2 separate regions of the Homo sapiens genome follow, and region 1 is linked to region 2. Evidence: promoter capture Hi-C in 16 types of primary human blood cells and fetal thymus (Javierre and others, 2016). All regions are on one chromosome and are shown on one strand. The core of a region is centred on a gene start or on the middle of the fragment in contact, and the rest is flanking DNA. Distances in the headings are between cores, read along the strand shown.

The links. Contacts are between HindIII fragments. The CHiCAGO score rates a contact against its expected background, and 5 or more counts as called.
Region 1: a contact is called between the fragment with the promoter of CDK12 here and the fragment with the promoter of IKZF3 in region 2, in 1 of 17 cell types (total CD8 T cells). The highest score is 5.5, in total CD8 T cells.

Annotation. Positions count from the first base shown.
Region 1 is chr17:39,456,893-39,463,190 of GRCh38, forward strand. CDK12 (cyclin dependent kinase 12) reads left to right here and starts at 4,594. Exons shown (of 14, transcript NM_016507.4): 1 at 4,594-6,225. The coding sequence starts at 5,180. RefSeq lists enhancers at 4,371-5,295, 4,656-4,705, 4,796-4,855, 5,021-6,220, 5,246-5,375. The HindIII fragment of the contact is 2,058 bases long and covers 4,408-6,298 here.
Region 2 is chr17:39,859,926-39,865,649 of GRCh38, forward strand. IKZF3 (IKAROS family zinc finger 3) reads right to left here and starts at 4,387. Exons shown (of 8, transcript NM_012481.5): 1 at 4,195-4,387. The coding sequence starts at 4,201. RefSeq lists enhancers at 1,491-1,650, 4,009-4,128, 4,139-4,228, 4,956-5,025, 5,086-5,145. The HindIII fragment of the contact is 8,560 bases long and covers 2,266-5,724 here.

The DNA of each region.
Region 1 (6,298 bases), core at 3,344-5,843, 400 kb before region 2:
CCCGGGTTCAAGCAATTCTCCTGCCTCAGCCTCCCTAGTAGCTGAGATTACAGGCATGTGCCACCACGCTGGGCTAATTTTTGTATTTTTAGTAGAGACGGGGTTTCTTCTTGTTGGTCAGGCTGGTCTTGAACTCCTGACCTCAGGTGATCTGCTTGCCTCGGCCTCCCAAAGTACTGGGATTACAGGCGTGAGCCTCCATGCCTGGCCCGTGTTTTTCTTTTTTCTTTTCTTTTTTGAGGCAGGTTCTTGTTCTGTTACCCAGGCTGGAGTGCAGTGGCATGATCATGGCTCATTGCAGCCTTGACCTCCTGGGCTCAAGTGATCCTCCCATCTCAGCCTCATAGTAGCTGGGACTATAGGCAAGCAACACCATGCCTGGTTAATTTCTTGTTTTTGTTTGTTTGTTTTTGGTAGGGACGGAGTCTCGCTCTGTCGCCCAGGCTGGAGTGCAGTGGCGTGATCTTGGCTCACTGCAAGCTCTGCCTCCTGGGTTCAAGCAATTCTCCTGCCTCAGCCTCCCGAATAGCTGAGAATACAGGCCCACACCACTACGCCTGGCTAATTTTTTTTTTTTTTTTTGAGACAGAGTTTCTCTTTTGTTGCACAGGCTGGAGTGCGATGGCCCAATCTCGGCTCACTGCAACCTCCGCCTCCTGCGTTCAAGCGATTCTCCTGCCTCAGCCTCCCGAGTAGCTGGGATTACAAGCATGGGCCACCATGCCCAGCTAATTTTTTAGTATTTTTAATAGAGACGGGGTTTCTCCATGTTGGTCGGGCTGGTCTCGAACTCCCGACCTCAGGTGATCCGCCCGCCTCAGCCTCCCAAAGTGCTGGGATTACAGGCGTGAGCCACCAAGCCCGGCGGCTAATTTCTTTTGTATTTTAGTAGAGATGGGGTTTTACCGTGTTGCCCAGGCTGGTCTCAAACTCCTGAACTCAGGCAATTTGCCTGCCTCGGCCTCCCAAATTGCTGGGATTACAGGCATGAGCCACCTTGCTCGGCCTGTCATTTCTTGTATTTTTTTGTAGAGACAGATGTCTCAACATGTTGCCCAGGCTGGTCTCCAATTTCTGGGCTCACGAATTCCTTCCATGTTGGCCTTCCAAATTGTTGGTTTTACAGATGTCAGCCACCACACTCAGCCCTTTTTTCTTTTTGTTAGCCACTTTTTTTTTTTTTTAGATGGATTCTCACTCTGTTGCCCAGGTTGGAATGCAGTGGTGCAATCTTAGCTCACTGCAACCTCTGCCTCCCAGGTTCTAGTGATTCTCATGCCTCAGCCTCCTGAGTAGCTGGAATTACAGGCATATGCCACCATGCCTGGCTAATTTTTGTGTGTGTGTATATATAAATATATATATATTTTTTTGTTGTTTGTTTGTTTGTTTTTGAAACAGAGTCTTGCTCTGTCACCCAGGCTGGAGCGCAGTGGCACGATCTTGGCTCACTGCAACTTCTGCGTTCTGGGTTCAAGCGATTCTCCTGTCTCAACCTCCTGAATATCTGTGATTACAGGCGATCACCACCACGCCTGACTAATTTTTGTATTTTTAGTAGAGATAGGATTTCACTGTGTTGGCCAGGCTGGTCTTGAACTGCTGACCTCAAGTGGTCCTCCCACTTCGGCCTCCCAAAGTGCTGGGATTACAGGCATGAGCCACAGTGCTTGGCCTCTAATTTTTTTTTTTTTTGAGGCAGAGTCTTGCTCTGTTGCCCAGGCTGGAGTGCAGTAGCGTGATCTCCCCTCACTGCAATCTCTGCCTCCCAGTAGCGTGATCTCCCCTCACTGCAATCTCTGCCTCCCGGGTTCACACCATTCTCCTGCTTCAGCCTCCTGAGTAGCTGCGACTACAGGCACCCGCCACCACGCCCAGCTAATTTTTTTGTATTTTTAGTAGAGACGGGGTTTCACCGTGTTAGCCAGGATGGTCTCGATCTCCTGACCTCCTGATCTGCCCGCCTCGGCTCCCAAAGTGCTGGGGTTACAGGAGTGAGCCACTGCGCCCGGCCTATTTTTGTATTTTTAGTAGAAACAGGGTTTCACTGCATTGGCCAGGCTGGTCTTACTCCTGACCTCAAATGATCCTCCCCTCTTGGCCTCCCAAAGTGCTGGGATTACAGGCATGAGCCACTGCTCCCAGCCACTTCTTTTTTCTTGATAGCATTAATTTTACTTCCATAGAAGATCAAAAAGTTGTCGTGGAAAACTTGGTCTTTTTATTTTTTAAATTTTTTTATTATTTACTTATTTATTTTGAGACGGAGTCTTGCTCTGTTGCCAGGCTGGAGTGCAGTGGCGCGATCTCGGCTCGCTGCAACCTCTGCCTCCAGGGTTCAACCTCTGCCTCAGCCTCACGAGTAGCTGGGACTGCAGGTGTGTGCCACCAAGCCCAGCTAATTTTTGTGTTTTTAGTAGAGACGGGGTTTCCCCATGTTGGCCAGGATCGTCTCCATCTCTTGACCTTGTGATCTGCCCACCTTGGCCTCCCAAAGTGCTGGGATTACAGGAGTGAGCCACTGTGCCTGGCCTGATCTTTTTATTTTAGAACCAATATTTATGGACTCAATCATTTAGAGACGGCGGGCGTGGTGGCTCACGCCTGTAATCCTAACACTTTGGGGGCCAAAGTGGATGGAATGCTTGAGCCCAGGCATCTGAGGTCAGACTCGGCAACATAGCCAGCCCTCCATCTCTACAAAAAAATAAAAATAAAAATTAGCTGGGCTGGTGGCCTGTGGCTGTAGTCTCAGCTACTCAGGAGGCTGAGATGGGAGGATCACCTGAGCCCATGAGGGGAAGGCTACAGTGAGTTATGATTGTGCCACTGCACTCCAGCCTGGGCGACAGAGCGAGACCCTTCACACACACACACAAAATTAGGTTAAAAAAAAAAAATGTTTTGGATCGCCCTGTGAGCAAAAGGAACAAGAACATTTACAGAGAGTGATTTTTGAGAATTGAGACTACCTTAATTCAGAATGTTTTCTGGTCCTGAATTTACCAGCTGAACTTCTCCGTTTTGGACAAGCCCCTTCATTTCTCCATGCCTTAGTTTTCTCACTTATACAACCTATTTCAGAGGACTGTTGTGAAGATGGAATGACTTAAGGTAGGCGAAAGTTTTTTAAAAAGTAATAAATGAGGGGCCAGTGTAAGATAGTGTTATTTTCTTGTTAATTAATACTATGCTTTTCTTGTTCATATTATAATCTTTTGTATGAGGATGAAAGGCTAAATTATCCAATAACGGCCATGGGAGGATCTCAAGATGGGATGAGCTTTTAGGTTCTGAGATTTGAAGCAAAGATTGGTAAGGAGACAACACCATAGGATGGAAGAGCTTGTGTTTTAGTCTCAGAAAGACATGAATTTGAATGTTGACTGTGGCACTTGTTGGACCAAATTATTCAACTTCCCTGAGGCTGGGATTCCTTTTCTATAAAACAGGGATGAAAATCTCGTGTTTTGCAGGATAATTGTGAAAATTAGAGATAATGTATGTAAAATTCTTGGCAGGTAGCACACACCCTATATGTGGGAAGCACTGTTAAAACACTCAGGGACTTGGGTTGAAATGTCCCGACATTTGTCTTTTGCTCTGTAAAAAATAATCTCAACCGGGCGCGGTGGCTCAAGCCTGTAATCCCGCCACTTTGGGAGGACCAGACGGGCAGATTGCTTCATTCTAGGAGTTCAAGACCAAGGATCGCGGATTGCTTGAGTCTAGGAGTTCGAGACTAGCCTGGGCAACATGGCGAAACCCCATCACTACGAATAATAGAAACAAATTAGCACGGCGTGGTGGCGCGACTCTATAGTTCCAAGTACTCGGCAGGATGAGGTGGGAGGATTGCTTGAGCCCAGGAGGTGGAGGCTGCAGTGAGCCGAGATCGTGCCACTGCACTCCAGTCTGGGCAAAAGAGAGAGAACTTGTCTCAAACAAACAAAAAAATGGCCCGGCGCGGCGGTTCACGCCTGTAATCCTAGCACTTTGGGAGGCCGAGGCGGGAGGATCACTTGAGGTCAGGAGGTCGAGACCAGCCTGGCCAACATGGTGAAACCCTGTCTCTACTAAAAACAAAAAAGTTAGCCGGGCGTGGTGGCGGGCGCCTGTAATCCCAGCTACTCGGGAGGCTGAGGCAGGAGAATCGCTTGAACCCAGGAGGTGGAGGTTGCAGTGAGCCGAGATCGCGCCACTAACACTCCAGGATGGGCTACAGAGCGAGACTCCGTCTCAAAGGAAAACAAAAAACAAACAAAAAAAAGTCATCCTGGTAGTTAAAAGATTTGTTAAAAAGGATGTTGAAATTATTTTGTCACGGAGCCTGGGAGTGTTTGTTTAATCAGTTACCGATAAAGTTTTGGTTAAAAAAAAAAAACTCGGTTTGTTCCGTTTCAATAAAGCTTTGCTCAAACGGGGAGCTCCGGGAGCTCATCGCGAGACTCAGGTGAAACGCGTTTCTAGTTTGGGACCTGATCTCGCGTTGTTTGATAAGCAGGGGAATGAGGTGAAAGCGAAGCACGAAACATCGCGAGAGGCTACTGGACTCTCGCGACGATTTCTGGGATTGCCCCTCCCCCCTTCCCCAAGTGCCGTTTCGGTTTAATCTAGTGTGTGACTGGGTCTGTGTGAGGGAGAGAGTGTGTGTGGTGTGGAGGTGAAACGGAGGCAAGAAAGGGGGCTACCTCAGGAGCGAGGGACAAAGGGGGCGTGAGGCACCTAGGCCGCGGCACCCCGGCGACAGGAAGCCGTCCTGAACCGGGCTACCGGGTAGGGGAAGGGCCCGCGTAGTCCTCGCAGGGCCCCAGAGCTGGAGTCGGCTCCACAGCCCCGGGCCGTCGGCTTCTCACTTCCTGGACCTCCCCGGCGCCCGGGCCTGAGGACTGGCTCGGCGGAGGGAGAAGAGGAAACAGACTTGAGCAGCTCCCCGTTGTCTCGCAACTCCACTGCCGAGGAACTCTCATTTCTTCCCTCGCTCCTTCACCCCCCACCTCATGTAGAAGGGTGCTGAGGCGTCGGGAGGGAGGAGGAGCCTGGGCTACCGTCCCTGCCCTCCCCACCCCCTTCCCGGGGCGCTTTGGTGGGCGTGGAGTTGGGGTTGGGGGGGTGGGTGGGGGTTGCTTTTTGGAGTGCTGGGGAACTTTTTTCCCTTCTTCAGGTCAGGGGAAAGGGAATGCCCAATTCAGAGAGACATGGGGGCAAGAAGGACGGGAGTGGAGGAGCTTCTGGAACTTTGCAGCCGTCATCGGGAGGCGGCAGCTCTAACAGCAGAGAGCGTCACCGCTTGGTATCGAAGCACAAGCGGCATAAGTCCAAACACTCCAAAGACATGGGGTTGGTGACCCCCGAAGCAGCATCCCTGGGCACAGTTATCAAACCTTTGGTGGAGTATGATGATATCAGCTCTGATTCCGACACCTTCTCCGATGACATGGCCTTCAAACTAGACCGAAGGGAGAACGACGAACGTCGTGGATCAGATCGGAGCGACCGCCTGCACAAACATCGTCACCACCAGCACAGGCGTTCCCGGGACTTACTAAAAGCTAAACAGACCGAAAAAGAAAAAAGCCAAGAAGTCTCCAGCAAGTCGGGATCGATGAAGGACCGGATATCGGGAAGTTCAAAGCGTTCGAATGAGGAGACTGATGACTATGGGAAGGCGCAGGTAGCCAAAAGCAGCAGCAAGGAATCCAGGTCATCCAAGCTCCACAAGGAGAAGACCAGGAAAGAACGGGAGCTGAAGTCTGGGCACAAAGACCGGAGTAAAAGTCATCGAAAAAGGGAAACACCCAAAAGTTACAAAACAGTGGACAGCCCAAAACGGAGATCCAGGAGCCCCCACAGGAAGTGGTCTGACAGCTCCAAACAAGATGATAGCCCCTCGGGAGCTTCTTATGGCCAAGATTATGACCTTAGTCCCTCACGATCTCATACCTCGAGCAATTATGACTCCTACAAGAAAAGTCCTGGAAGTACCTCGAGAAGGCAGTCGGTCAGTCCCCCTTACAAGGAGCCTTCGGCCTACCAGTCCAGCACCCGGTCACCGAGCCCCTACAGTAGGCGACAGAGATCTGTCAGTCCCTATAGCAGGAGACGGTCGTCCAGCTACGAAAGAAGTGGCTCTTACAGCGGGCGATCGCCCAGTCCCTATGGTCGAAGGCGGTCCAGCAGCCCTTTCCTGAGCAAGCGGTCTCTGAGTCGGAGTCCACTCCCCAGGTGAGCTATTTGTCTAACAGTCCTTCCTCATTTAGGGTGGGTTGCGAGGAATTGGCATTCAGCGTGTTAACAT
Region 2 (5,724 bases), core at 3,137-5,636:
CAATTATCATTGGACATCTATCTAGGCCAGGTGCAGTGGCTCACTCCTGTAATCCCAGCACTTGGGAAGGTTGAGGCGGAAGGATCACTTGTGGCCAAGAATTCAAGACCAACCTGACCAACATAGTGAGACCCCCATTTCTACAAAAAATGAAAGATAATAAATCAGCAGGTCATGGCGGTTTGTACAATAAATTACCAGGTTATGGTGGTGGATGCCTGTAGTCCTAGCTACTCAGAAGGTTGAGGCAGGAGGATCGTCTGAGCCTAGGAGTTTGTGGTAGCCTGGGCAACAGAGCAAGGACTATCTCTTTAAAAATAATAATAAAAAAAAAAAACTGGATGTCTGATAAAAGATCTACCAATAATCAATAATCTTTTAGTCCTAAATAAGTGTAAGTATATACATTTATATATGAATGAAAAGTTTATAACAATGTATTTTTAAAGTATCACTTGAAAGCGTATGCTATTTTTATGGCATCATCTATATCTTACTGACTGAGAAAACAAATTTCTGCTCATATTCAATGGATATTTTAATGGACTAATTGCGATCCTGAAATCTGCTTATGTAAATTTAACAGTTAAAATTTGGCTTTACACAAAAAAGAATGAAATCATATCCTTTGCAACAACATGGATGCAGCTGGAGGCCATTATTCTTAGTGAATTAACACAGAAACAGAAAACCAAATACCGCATGTTCTCACTTATGACGGGGAGCTAAACACTGGGTACACATGGACTGTTATGAATTAATGTGACCCCCAAATTAGACACTGATGACCCCAAAATGGGGAAGGGTGGGAGGAGGGCAAGGGTTGAAAAACTACCTATAGGACACTATGCTCATTATTTGGGTGACAGGATCAATAGAAGCCCAATCCTCAGCATCACATAATATACTTATGTAAGAAACCTGCACATGTACCCCCTAAATCTAATTTTGTTAAAATTGGCTTTAAGTGACAGTCTAGCAAAAAATATCCAATAACATTTTTGTTTTCCAAGCTTTCTTTTTCAATTATACAGTTTAAGTGCTTAAAAAATTACTGAGCTTTATCAAAGAATTACTAGCCCCAATCTCCTACTTTAAAAATTTATTTAAATAAAATGCATCACAATAAACATAATAAAAAGTACTTTTTCAGCACTATTTTAATTGAATGCAACAAATTCTGAGGGCCTTCTATGAACCAGAAACTGTCCTTCGCATTCAGTGTACAAAAACAAGACACAGTCTCTGTTCTCCAGAAGCTTAAAGACCAGAGGGGGAATAAACACCTACATCAATAAATAATTTCAACACAATGTGGTAGAAGTATACACAGAAAGGAGAGGCCCTTAGCTGAGGTGAAGGAACATGAGAGACTGGGTAGGGGTGATCACCAGAAGGCACTAGGAGGAGGTCATCAGAAGAAGGTCATCAGAGAGCCTTCATGGCGATGATGCCTGAGCAGAGTCTTGAAAGATGAGTAGGCATAAGCAAGTAGAGAATGGGTGAACATAATAGCAAAGACATGGAAGCATGAAATAGCATACTGGATTAAAGGAAGTACAAACAGGAATTTTGAAAAATTATGTTCTACCAGGACGCCACGGCCTTTCTGTGGCTTTTGTTTCTTAAAACCTTCGCATTTCATCCTCCATACGCTCACAATGGAGGGCAAACAGATTCCATCATCTACAGGCTTTATCTCTGTTAATCTCAGCCATCCAGAACATGGAAAGGGACCTGAAACAAAACCCTACTACCACAAAATCTATGTGGTAAGAAATATAAGCTGACATCAAGAAGGAGACAAAAATTGTACAATATCCTAGGTATGTTTGGTGTAGGGGCATTCAGCTCAAAACCCCTGTGAGAATATATTATGGAATAATATATGATCTGATGGTGAGAACAGTAACTCAGAGTTGCCGAGATAAACTTATCTCTTATGTACCTTGCTTATAAAGCAGGGAGCTGTGTAATAAATATACTTAGAAAAATCTTTACTCAATATTGTTAAAAATAAAAATGTTTTACATTAAATAAGAAGTCTGCCATTACCTGTGAAATTCATGTTTGTGAACCACCTCATTTCCCGACCATAACAGACAGAAGAGATGTTATAGTACAAATAATAAAATTTAGTGATTCATAAACAGTCTTTGGGTAGAAAATATTTAAGGTCACAGATTGTGAGAAAATTAAAAAGTTATAGCTTCTGATTTTAGTATATTCATTAAATCTTCATTTCTACAAGATTTCTATTTCAAAAGCTTATTCATCTGACATCTTCATACATAGAAAGTCTCAATAAATTAATTAAAAGATAAATGAATTTGTTAAATGACTTTATATGCTGAAGGAATGATATACAGTATTGCATTGTACAATAAACTGTTATGAATCAATGTGACCCCCAAATTGGGCAGAAAATAAAGGTATTCCATGAAGTATTCTACTTTCTTACATTGCCAAGAGAGGTATACACTATAGACCAAATCTCTAATCTAGACTGAGATCAAAACCACAAGATGATATAAAAATTTTTTAAATATCAAAAACATGGGCCAGATTAGTCTATTTTGGGTAGCTATAATGAACCAGATATTTTACCACATCAAATACTCTATACGCAAGGACCTGACATTAAAATAGCCAAATTCATATAATTAACCTCTTTTTAAAATTTAAATGTTAAAGTTTTTTCATTAAGCATAATCTATACTATCTATCTCCATGGACCTATAGATTTAATCTAATCATGTAAACACAACTTTAAAAAGTTATTGATCTACATTCTCTTTCCATTTATAGTCTACACACTCTAAATTAAATTCTACACAAGTTTTCATTCTTTTCTTCTTAAGGGAGTCTTCAGGCTTATTAAACATCTGTGTTAGTACACCAATAACCTAAGATATGCTATTTAGTTTCTTTATTGCACATTAAATAAATGAATTTGGAAGTATTAACATTTATAGAGAAATACTCCAGTTTCTATGGATTTACATGATTCTGTACATTATCCTTGATACGTGGTATGGTTACGGCTAGGAAAAATAGTGTTGGAGTACTGATTTATAATTTCATAAAAACAAATTAATCATTTGTAATAATTAAAGCATATGAGCTTTTCAAAAATTATTTTTCCCATAGTATACAACAGCCCAACTTTTTTTCCTTGTTATTGGCCAATAAAACCTTTGTTAAAAATTACACTTCAATAAACCATTATTTAAATGTTAAAAATGCAAAATTTTTAAAGTTTTCAAGCCCTAATTAAAAAAATTAAAAGCATAAAGTTTTTGATATTTTAACAACTTTATATACTCTAGAAATAAAGCTGCCAAAGATCAGTTCATTGTTAATTAGAGATTCTTCCATTATTATGAAGAAAATACCCACGATCTTCATATTTATCAAAGTAACATTTTAGTTAGGTGTCAATATCTCATTTTTAATAGAATGAAATTCTGAATTTCTTAATCCCACCATCCCCCCCCGAGTTGAGATGCATTTGCCATTTTCAAGGTTTTAGAAACACTTGTTGAAAAGACCATTGAAGAGTTTACAGTAGCAGTGTGAAATTTTAGGTATCCCAAGGAAGTACAGAATGAAAAATGTTTGAGAAGCAAGGATAGTGTTACGACTTTCAAAATTAATTCATATGAAACTCCTAATGTGAACCTGATTTTTTGCGCTGGGTAAAGAAGACTCATTAGAAGATCGAGTTCCAAGGGAACTGCAAATGCCAACCGCTTTAAAATGTACCTTTCCCATATGACACCATTTACCCTTGGAAGAAAACAAGTTACTCAGATTAGTCTAATTCCAATAAACACTGAGGCCATGAAGGAAAAAATATCCAAAAGGGTTGATTATTCCACCCCAGATTTGCAGCCATTTCAGGGACACCCCTTAAGTGCTCTTCCTCTGCAGATGTAGGGTAGACCCCCCATGTCTGACAACTCTTTAGAAATAAAATTGCGAAGAAGTTATCACTTTCCAAAGGGCGGGGGAAGGACAAGTGAGAGACGTTAAGAGAACCGACGCGCTTTGTCCTCTGAAATACCTCATATTTACTTTTGACAAAAGAAGTAAATAGAAGCAAAACTGAGATTCAGAAGAAACTCTTTCTACTGCTTGCACAGGTTAAGTTTCTCAAAGACCCCGGAGAAAAGAAGCGGGCTGGAGGCTCACCTTCCATGTCGCTGCCGGGCCGGGCTGGAGCTGCCGCTGTGGCTACTCGGCCTCTCCACGTGCTCCTGCCGTCGCCTGGACTCAGCGCGCAGCTGGCGGGAGATTCCCGGCGCGGGGAGTCCCCGGGATCCGGCAGCCGCGTCGGCGCAGACTGAAAAGGGCAGGAGCCGGCGACCTGCCGGTGCGCGGGGTTACAGCGGCGCTGGCTGGCGGCGGCTTTAAAGGACGCTGGCCGCGGAGTGCCGCGGGTTCCGCGCCTCCAGCCCCCTTTCGAATGTCAAACCCAAGGAACCCCGACAGGATGGAAATGTCGCATCACTAAATTGTCTCAAAATGTCTATTTTAGAAGGATAATGGATGAGAAAAGTGACATCACACGGAGGGTCGGGGGTCAGCCTTGCTTTCTTGGCAAGCTGAAGTTCAAAGACGTTTATCTTAAATTGAGGAAGATCTGGAACTTTTTGTCTAGATTCAGTGATAACAGCCGTGGAAAGTATCAATGAGAACCCCCTTCTTTCAAAGTATTTTTTTTTCCTTCCTCACTTTTTCATTTCACATGGTAAAAGTTTTTGGTCCAAGTTTTCAGACAGTTGGAAAGGATTTTGGCACTTCTATCAATTCAACTTTTTAATTTTTGGAAGCATTTATCTCACTTTTGTTTTCCCTCTGGGAACTGCTTGATTTATTTGCCACCACTCACGCAATACTACCCACTCTATATAAATAGAGGGAGTGTTTTATAGAGTGTGTTTATTTTCTCCCAGCCTGCCTTCTTCTAAATACACACCTTACAAAAATACATATATGATGTACCAGAAAATTAAGCAAAGAAAGTAGAGCTAAGGGTGGAAGGTGGGGGCAGTAAGATTGTAAAATTAACTTAAAGATGTTAGTATACAGATATGTATCAGTCAACATCTTCTCCCAACACCCTCCCTACTGTCCAGAGGTAAAGCACACATTTGACTGCAGAGAGAGGAAAGGGGAAGTGACCACAAAACTGTTTTTCAAAGCAGAACTTTTCTTCACATTGAGGTCTAAGGGACATTGTTCAGGTGAGCCCTTCTAAAGATATCCAGCGTGTGGGACAATATACGAATGAGTCTCAAAAGGCCACTGTCACCGCTATTAGAAAATTATATTAGTGCATACAAATATATTTGAGACTTAAGGCTGAGGGTTTGTGCATCAGCTGTCCATATCAGAAGAAACCCACACTTACAAGTTAAAGTATACATGCTGTAATTTTATGAATTGTAGCTTTAAACAATAGTATGTCGTTGGTATAGGCAGTCTATGTGATGTGTGTATATATATTCAAGTGGGTGAAAAACTACACTGGCTTTAAGCACCACAGTAGCATCTCTATAACTGTATGAGTTGGGAGTTCTGCAGGATGTCAATTTTGGAGAAATACTCTAAACACTAGGTCTAATTTTAGTACTGAAAGGGGAAATTTGTTGTTTGTTAGTTTCTAAAAGCAAAAATAGCACATCAAAAGTAGCAGAAGAGGAACTGTAAAATTTCACA